2 separate regions of the Homo sapiens genome follow, and region 1 is linked to region 2. Evidence: promoter capture Hi-C in human tissues and cell types (Jung and others, 2019). All regions are on one chromosome and are shown on one strand. The core of a region is centred on a gene start or on the middle of the fragment in contact, and the rest is flanking DNA. Distances in the headings are between cores, read along the strand shown. Region 1 overlaps GPATCH8 (G-patch domain containing 8). Region 2 holds the start of FZD2 (frizzled class receptor 2).

The links. The method cuts DNA at HindIII sites, captures the fragments that hold promoters and counts their contacts. A contact is called where the count stands out against the background at its distance.
Region 1: a fragment that was not itself captured here is called in contact with the fragment with the promoter of FZD2 in region 2 in 2 of the 25 tissues and cell types used here (IMR-90 fibroblasts and mesendoderm cells).

What each region holds. Positions count from the first base shown.
Region 1 is chr17:44,441,734-44,445,940 of GRCh38, reverse strand. All of the region lies in intron 3 of GPATCH8 (G-patch domain containing 8), which reads left to right. Among named protein-coding and RNA genes, the nearest start is that of ITGA2B, 54 kb to the right of the region's middle. The HindIII fragment of the contact is 3,607 bases long and covers 504-4,110 here.
Region 2 is chr17:44,554,793-44,558,971 of GRCh38, reverse strand. It overlaps FZD2 (frizzled class receptor 2), which reads right to left and starts at 1,488. Exons shown (of 1, transcript NM_001466.4): 1 at 1-1,488. The coding sequence starts at 1,283. RefSeq lists silencers at 742-791, 1,037-1,283, 1,682-1,781 and enhancers at 278-1,238, 1,456-2,223, 2,224-2,993. The HindIII fragment of the contact is 9,533 bases long and covers 1-4,179 here.

The DNA.
Region 1 (4,207 bases), core at 1,058-3,557, 110 kb after region 2:
AAATTAATAGCTAATAATGGGTCACATGCCCCATTAGTGACAGAACTGTAATTCAGATCCCCTGAGTTTCATGTTGCCACTCTTTACAAGTATATTTTTTCTTTTGGAATTCATTAATCAAGAAATACTCATGTAGGCTGGGCACAGTGGCTCATGCCTGTAATCCCAGCACTTTGGGAGTATGAGGTGGGTGGATCACCTGAAGTCAGAAGTTCGAGGCCAGCCTGGCCAACATGGTGAAACCCCGTCTCTACTAAAAATACAAAAAATTAGCCACCTGGTGGCGGGCACCTGTAATCCCAGCTACTCAGGAGGCTTGAGGCAGGAGAATCGCTTGAACCTAGGAAGTGAAGGTTGCAGTGAGCCGAGATCGCGCTGTTGCACTCCAGCCTAGGCAACAAGAGTGAAACTCCATCTTAGGGGGGGAAAAAAAAAAAAGAAAAAGAAATACTCACATAGATTGGAGCTCACTGGTAATTTTTGGTCTACCTACATGTATATAGGAGTGTACTGGGTACTTGAAGGAAGCCATTAATTTTTACTGTGACCTGTTTTTTAAAAAGAGGAAAAATGTTTTCAGAATTTCTAACAGACCACTTACCCTAAACCTAATTTCCTGGAAAACACCATTATTATGGGGGCTGACTTGAGGTTTTCCTTCACTGAAACTGGTTATGGCAACTTTCCAATTCAGTTTTTTAAAAGTTTGTCGATATATGTTGAATGTAAGTTCTTTAGTATTTTTTTCTTAAACATTTGATGCTTCCTTCTCCTTGACTACTGAGTGATAACAAGAAATGAAATTGAACAAGCCTTAAGGCTCTAATGACCAGTAATGTAAAACTCAAATATTTCATTATAAAAGTTTACATATTTTTTGATATATGGAGACCTTTCTAATATAGTGATATGTTCTACTTGATAAAATAATTCCTTGATTATGAGAGTTAAATCATTAGTATCTTGTGATGTTAAGCGGCGCGCATCATGATGACTAAGTATTTACAGTTGAACAAGTTTCAGACCCGCTACGAACATGTTCATTCTCTGAGTCAACAAATGCTTTTTAACTAAATGCCATTCTGGCCTACATACTGTGTCAGATATGGATATAAACATAAGTAAAACTCAGGGCACAAAAGTGCTACCACTTTTTTTCCCCCCGTGAGATGGAGATTCTCTCTTGTTGCCCCAGACTGGAGTGCAATGGTGTGATCTCGGCTCACTGCAACTTCTGCCTCCCAGTTTCAAGTGATTCTCCTGCCTCAGCCTCCCAAGTAGCTGGGATTACAGGAACATGCCACCACGCCCAGCTAATTTTTGTATTTTAAATGCAGACGAGGTTTTGCCATGTTGGCCAGGCTGATCTCGACCTCCTGACCTCAAGTAGTCTGCCTGCCTTGGCCTCCCACAGTGCTGGGATTACAGCCGTGAGCCACCATGCCTGGCCTTTTTTTTTTCTTTAAACTAAAGACTTAACTGTTTTTTTCCGTATCTCCTCAGCCCCATGTTTTAGACTATTTTACCCCAAAATTGTATTTATTAATTTGGCTTTCCCATTTGAAAAAACAAATTGATCTTAGCATGGTGGTTAGCTTGAGGCAATCTTTAGTGAGTCAGTATAATTTTAGCTAAAACAGTTGTATCTCATGTAAAAGTATGATTTTCTTTAGGTTTTTTTTTTTTAATTGAAAGTAACTCATGAATTCTCTTTATTATCTCTTCTAAGGGCTTGAGGATATCATGTTATCCCTGGATGAGATATCCTTCCCAGGCCTAACATTCTGATTTAACAACACTTTCACTAAAGCCTTTTGCCCCACCTTTGTTCCTGTTTATTAATATATTTAGTTATATGATTAAAATTGAACTATTTTATCCTAGATGGAAAGTATCAGATGGAAATTCGTTTAGGTCATAATTAAACTTGTGTGCCTTAGAAAACATCTGTATTTGAAAATCAAATTGGCCAGGCACCATGGCTCATGTCTGTAATCCCAGCACCTTGTGGGGCCAAAGTGGGCAAATTGCTTGAGCTCAGAAGTTCAAGAACAAACTGGGCGGGCAACATGGTGAAATCCCGTCTCTACAAAAAATAACAAGAATTAGCCACATGTGGTGGTGTGCACCTGTAGTCCCAGCTTCTTAGGAAGCTGAGATGGGAGGATTACTTGAGCCCAGGAGGTTGAGGCTGCAGTGAGCCGTGGTTATGCCACTGCACTCCAGCCTGGGCGATGGTGAGACCCTGTTTTAAAAAATAAATAAAGGAAGAAAAAAATCAAATTAATTTGGTTGTTGTATAGGTCACTAAAAAGGCCATGGCAAGAATATAGTAGGTTTTTGTAGTACTGGATAATTTGAACTCTATTTTGGGTAGAAAGTTTTTCCTTTTTTTTTAAACCTTAAAAACTCTCTAGGGATTAAGTAATGTGCTCAATGTTTTCAGTTAATGTTTTCTGAGAGGTAGCATATATCATATGTTAGAGTTGCTTAGAAAAATATCTAAACGATGCTGAAAGTAATAATTGTTTCTATGCCACCTAAAGACTCATTTTCAGGAGAAATTTGCAAAAATTAAGCTTTGGTTTGGAAATAAATGTACCATTTTTTATTCAGTGTTTCTGAAAGTTTCATGTGATCACAGTTTCAATAAATGAAATGATATTTAAGTCCATTAACATGACTTGAATCCTATTTTGAATACTTTTGCAAATCAGAGAATCACCTGCGTAATTTTTTTTATCTTGATTTTCACATATGTATTTGCATTACTTAAAAAGAAGAAATAAGTACTTTAAAGATGTCAGTGTAGGTTCTTGGCCTTTATCAGTTTAATGGTCTTTTTTCCCCTCTTTTCTCTTTTTCGACAAGGTTTTTCTCTGTCACCCAGGCTGGAGTGCAGTGGTGCGATGATAGCTCACTCCAGCTCCTGGGCTCAAGTGGTCCTTCTGCCTCAATATTTTCAGTGGCTAGGACTGCAGGTGCATGCCACCATGCCCAGCTAATTTTTTTAAGAAAAATTTTTTGGAGAGACAGAGTCTTGCTCTATTGCCCAGTATGGTCTCAAACTCCTGTCCTCAAGGCATCTTCCTGCCTTGGCCTCCCCAAGTGCTGGGATTACAGGCGTGAGCCACCAAGCCCAGCCCAGTTTTAATTGTCTTTTGAAAGTGGATTTTAGGCCGGGCTCATTGGCTTACACCTGTAATCCCAGCACTTTGGAGGCTGAGGTGAGCAGATCACTCAAGCCCAGGAGTTTGAGACCAGCCTGAGCAATATGGTGAAACCCCATCTCTACTAAAAATACAAAAATTAGCCAGATGTAGTGGCAGGCACTTGTAGTGTCAGCTACTCAGGAGGCCTAGAGGCAAGAATTGCTTGAGCCTGGAAGCTGGAATTTACAGTGAGCGGAGATGGCACCACAGCACTCCAGCCTGGGTGACTTAGCAAGATCCTGTCTCAAAAAAAACATGGATTTTGTGACTTTTTGATGGCTTTTATATTTACTTGCACTTCATTAAGGTCGTCTTTAAAGACAACTTTAGATATCTTTAAAAGACAACTTCAGACATTTTTAAGCTTTTTTAACTGCTTATGCATTAGCTTCACAAATGTTCTGTTTTCTCTCATTCTCAGCTGAAGTTCCAGCTGGTCAGATTACTCTATTTTGCCTATTTATTGGTAATTCATGGAACGTGGTGCTGCGGTTGTGGTGTTTTTTTTTTTTTTTACATCATCACTATATGCAGTGCCCAGAACAGTGCCTTGAATATAGTAGAAACTCTCTTTCTCTCTCTCCTTCTCTCTCTCTCTCTCTCTCTATATATATATATATGTATATATATACGTATACATATACACACATATATATGTGTATATATATATTATTTTATTTTATTTTATTTTTGTCTCTTTGAGACAGAGTTTCACTCTTGTTGCCCAGTCTGGAGTGCGATGGTACGATGTCAGCTCACTGCAACCTCCGCCTCCCGGGTTTAAGCGATTCTCCTGCCTCAGCCTCCCAAGTAGCTAGGATTACAGGCATGCACCACCATGCCCAGCTAATTTTGTATTTTTAGTAGATACAGGGTTTCACCATGTTGGTCAGGCTGGTCTTGAACTCCTGACCTCAGGTGATCCACCCGCCTCGGCCTCCCAAATTGCTGGGATTACAGGCCTGAGCCACCGTGCCCGGGCTTTTGATTTTTTT
Region 2 (4,179 bases), core at 239-2,738:
GTGCCGATGAACAGGTACACGAAGAGCGGCGCTAGCACGAAGCCCCGCAGCGGGTCCAGGCTGTTGAGGCCTACGAAGCACACGCCGCTCAGCAGGTCGCCGTCGATCTGGCCCATGGCCAGGATGGTGATGGTCTTGACGGCCGGCACGGCCCAGGCGGCCAGGTGGAAGTACTGAGAGTTGGCCTCGATGGCCTCGTGGCCCCACTTCATGCCGGCTGCCAGGAACCAGGTGAGCGACAGGATGACCCACCAGATGGAGCTGGCCATGCTGAAGAAGTAGAGCATCATGAAGAGGATGGTGCAGCCCTCCTTCTTGGTGCCCTGCACCACCGTGCGGTAACCGTCCTCGGAGAAGCGCTCGTTGCACACCACGCGCTCCTGGAGCACGAAGCCCGCGATGTAGGCCACCGACACCATGGTGTAGCAGCCCGACAGAAAAATGATAGGCCGCTCTGGGTAGCGGAAGCGCTGCATGTCTACCAAGTACGTGGTGACAGTGAAGAAGGTGGAAGCGCAGCACAGCACCGACCAGGTGAGGATCCAGAGGCGCGCGAAACGCGTCTCCTCCTGTGAGAAGAACATGGAACCATCGGGCCGCGCAGGTTCGCAGGGCGCAGCACAATCACGCTCGCCCAGAAACTTGTAGCTGAGATAGGATGGCACCTTGAGGACGCGCGGGCAGTGGAAGGGGTGCTCCAGCGTGGCGTAGCGCGGGGGAGCGCCGCCGCCGCCCGGGCCACCCGGGGTGCCCCCGGCACCCGGCTGCAGTCCCGGCGGCGGCGCGGTGGTGAGTAGCGCGGGAGCTCCGTCCTCGGAGTGGTTCTGGCCGACGCAGATCTGCTCGGCGCCGTGGCGCGGGAAGTGCTCGCAGCGCAGGCGCTCGGGCCACTGAAAACCGAACTTGTTCATGAGGGCTTCGCAGCCCTGGCGCGCGCGCTCACAGATAGAGCGGCACGGCGGGATGGCCTGTTCCAGCACGGTGCACACGGGTGCGTACATGGAGCACAGGAAGAAGCGCAGTTCGGGCGAGCACTGCACCTTCACCAGCGGATAGAACTGGTGCACCTCTAGGCCTGCGTCCTCCTGGTTCGTGTGGCCCAGAAGGTTGGGCATGATGGTCTGGTTGTAGGCGATGTCCGTGCACAGCGGGATGGAGATGGGCTGGCAGAAGCCGTGGTCCGGGATGGAGATGCCCTTCTCCCCGTGGAACTGGGCCGGCCCGGCGGCGGGCAGCAGCAGCAGCGGCAGCAGCAGGCGGGGCAGGGCGCTGCGGGGCCGCATGCTGGCCGCCGCCCCCCACCCGGCTCCTTGGCGCCCCCCCCGCCCCCGCCCCCAACCCGGAGACTGCGCTTCTTCCCCGCCGCCTCCTCGCTGCGGCTGCCGCCTCCCGCGCCTCTTTGCAAACTTTACTCGCGGCCGCAGAGTTGGGGAGGCCGGGCGGGGGAGGGGGCGGTGCGCCTGCCCGCTTGCTTGCCGCGGTCGGACTGAGCAGCCGGAGACACCGCGCGCTGCTGCCCTCTCTCCTCTTCCTCCTCCTCTCGCCTCTCAGCTCCCCCTCTCCCCTCCCTTCTGCACCCAGCGACTTCTTTGTGCCTCCTCCAGCCCTCACCTCGGCCTCTCCGATCCCAATTAGTCGGTTTCAAGGGGGCCCCCGCTGGCGGCCCCGCCCTCTCCTCAGCCCCCCAAAAAAGGGATCCTTGAAACCGCCCCGTCGAGCTCTAAGCACCAACCCAAAATGTGCTCTCGGCCAATCAGATTTAAACCCGAGGACCAGGCCCGAGGGCTGGATTGGTCGACCACAACATAATGAGATCAGAAACCAGATGCCAACAAAACTTTCCCCCCCTTTTGCTTTTTAAAGAGACAAGCTATTATTATATTAAGGGCTGTTTGCCCAGCCCGGGATTTCTCCGGAGTTGCCGCGGCGAGATCGGGGGACACTACTCGACCCTGGCTCACTCCTCTTCCCGGGCCGAGGTGCTCTGCCGGGTGGGGACTCTTTAAACCCTTGCCCCCGCCCCCGATCCTCGAACCCCACCTATTCCTAGTCCAATTTTTCAAATCGAGTGAAAAATCTCAAATTTAAAAATTAAAACAGACTTTAAAAAAACTAACAATTTACAAAGACCTTTTCTGTCCGCTCTTTCTGGAGCCCAGGCGAAAGTTTCACTTCACTTTACACGTAGATCCCTCGCCCTCCCCCTCCACACACCCTTAAAAAACCCTCTGAAAAATGGGATCCTGTCTCTTTAAGAGACTCTTAAAGGGACCAGGACTCCGAGGCGTAATTGCCCCGTAGCCAACACAAAGGAGCCCATTATGGTTCTTTGTGTTCGGTGGCACCTCAAAGTGAGAAAACTCAGGAACTCGGAGGCCCGGAGCTGGAGGGTTGGGGCGGGGGGCTTGGAGGGAGCGAGGGAAAGGAGAATGGCCCGGAGCTGCGGCTTCTCCCTCCCGCTTCTTCTGCGGCAAATCTTAATTGTGCAAAGTAAAGTTTAGTTGCCCTAAGGAGGAGGTCTTAATCGAAAGTTAATGGTGGGGGGCGGGGGGTGACGGGCAATTTTGAGTGAAGGGACGACTCTCTTAGGCCTGACGAACGTTTGAGGGAATTTTCCTTCTGCCTCCCCACCTCTACCTCCGCCCCCTAAAAGCTTCCAGATCCCGTCTCCAGGGCGAGAGGGGAGTTTTACCCAAATCTTAAGTGGTTCCACACCAGAGAGGGGTGGCGTGTGTGACGCGGGAGGAAACTGGGGGGTTGTGGTGAATTATCCCCTCCACATCTCTCACCTGGTAAGGGGTGGGGTGTGGCCAGCAGGGTTCCTGCTACTTTTAGAATTTTTCTTTTCCCTTCTAGGATTTTAAATTTGGAAAGGGGTCGAGGAGGAATTTGCATGTAAATCTCCTGGGCCTGATACTGGATGATGGATCAATTATTTTCTGTTGTCTCTCCCGAGGGACAGGGGAAAGGGGGGACTTAAAAAGAAGAAAGAAAATTGAGTTTAGAAAGCCCCTTTGCTTCACAGTATGGGCCAAATCCTCACAGTCTGGTGAAATGTTTCTTGCTCCAATATAGAAAAGAATTGTTTTAAACAACAACAGCAGAAGAAGAAAAATAACAAAAAGAGGAAAGGAGTAGGGAGAAGGAAAAAATATTCTAAGTAGATGGATACAAAGGGATCCAGGTTTGACAGGATTCAAAAAAAAATTTTTTTTTCCTGATCGAATGAATGATATAAAGATGTTCCGGTTTCTTACAACTTGAAAATGTTCCTTATTACATCCTGGGGAATTTGCCTTTTCCCTACACCAGGATGAAAATTTTCCTTCAAAATTGGGGCATGAGTGGGTGTCGAGGGGGATATGCCTTTTTTTGTGCATCCCATTTCCAGCCCACCCATCTCTATTCCACCAGCAAGCCCATTTTCTCTCAGAGCAGTCTAAGGATGGGAATGTTGTGCTCTCTCTGCTCCATTTGAGCCTGAGCTTTTGATCCTCAGATCTCCTGCCTAGTCCATCTCAAAGCATCTTGAGAGCCGGTACCAAACATGGAAGCTGAGCAGTGGAAACAAAAATGAATGACAGGCTCCTATACCCCATTCAGGAAGCTCGCAGTCCGATAGGAAATTGAGAGCAAATCTCCAATGTAAACGCAGCATCTTCAATTTCCTTCCATGACAAACCCGTTTTCCTGGCCTAGGGCCAGGTCTGAATGACAGTTATCCCCTCCCAGCCACCCCAAGGCAGATGGGGAGCTGGGGAGCTGGAAACAGGAAATAGAGGACATTCTTCCATTCACTCAGGCAACCTTTCATTCCTTCAACACACTTTTTTTCTTATTTCAAACCACCATAATAGGGGCTATGGAGAATGTGGAAAAAGATGACAGCATCTGCCCTTCAAAAATTTATAGTAGGCCGGGGGCAGTGGCTCATGCCTATAATCCAGCACTTTTGGAGGCCAAGGCGGGCAATCACCTGAGATCAGGAGTTTGAGACCAGCCTGGCCAACATAGTGAAACCCCGTCTCTACAAAAAATACAAAAATTAGCTGGGCATGGTGGTGCATGCCTGTAGTCCCAGCTACTCAGGAGGCTGAGGCAGGAGCTGAGGCTTGAACCCGGGAGTCGGAGGCTGAAGTGAGCTGAGGTCGCGCCACTGCACTCCAGCCTGGGCAACAC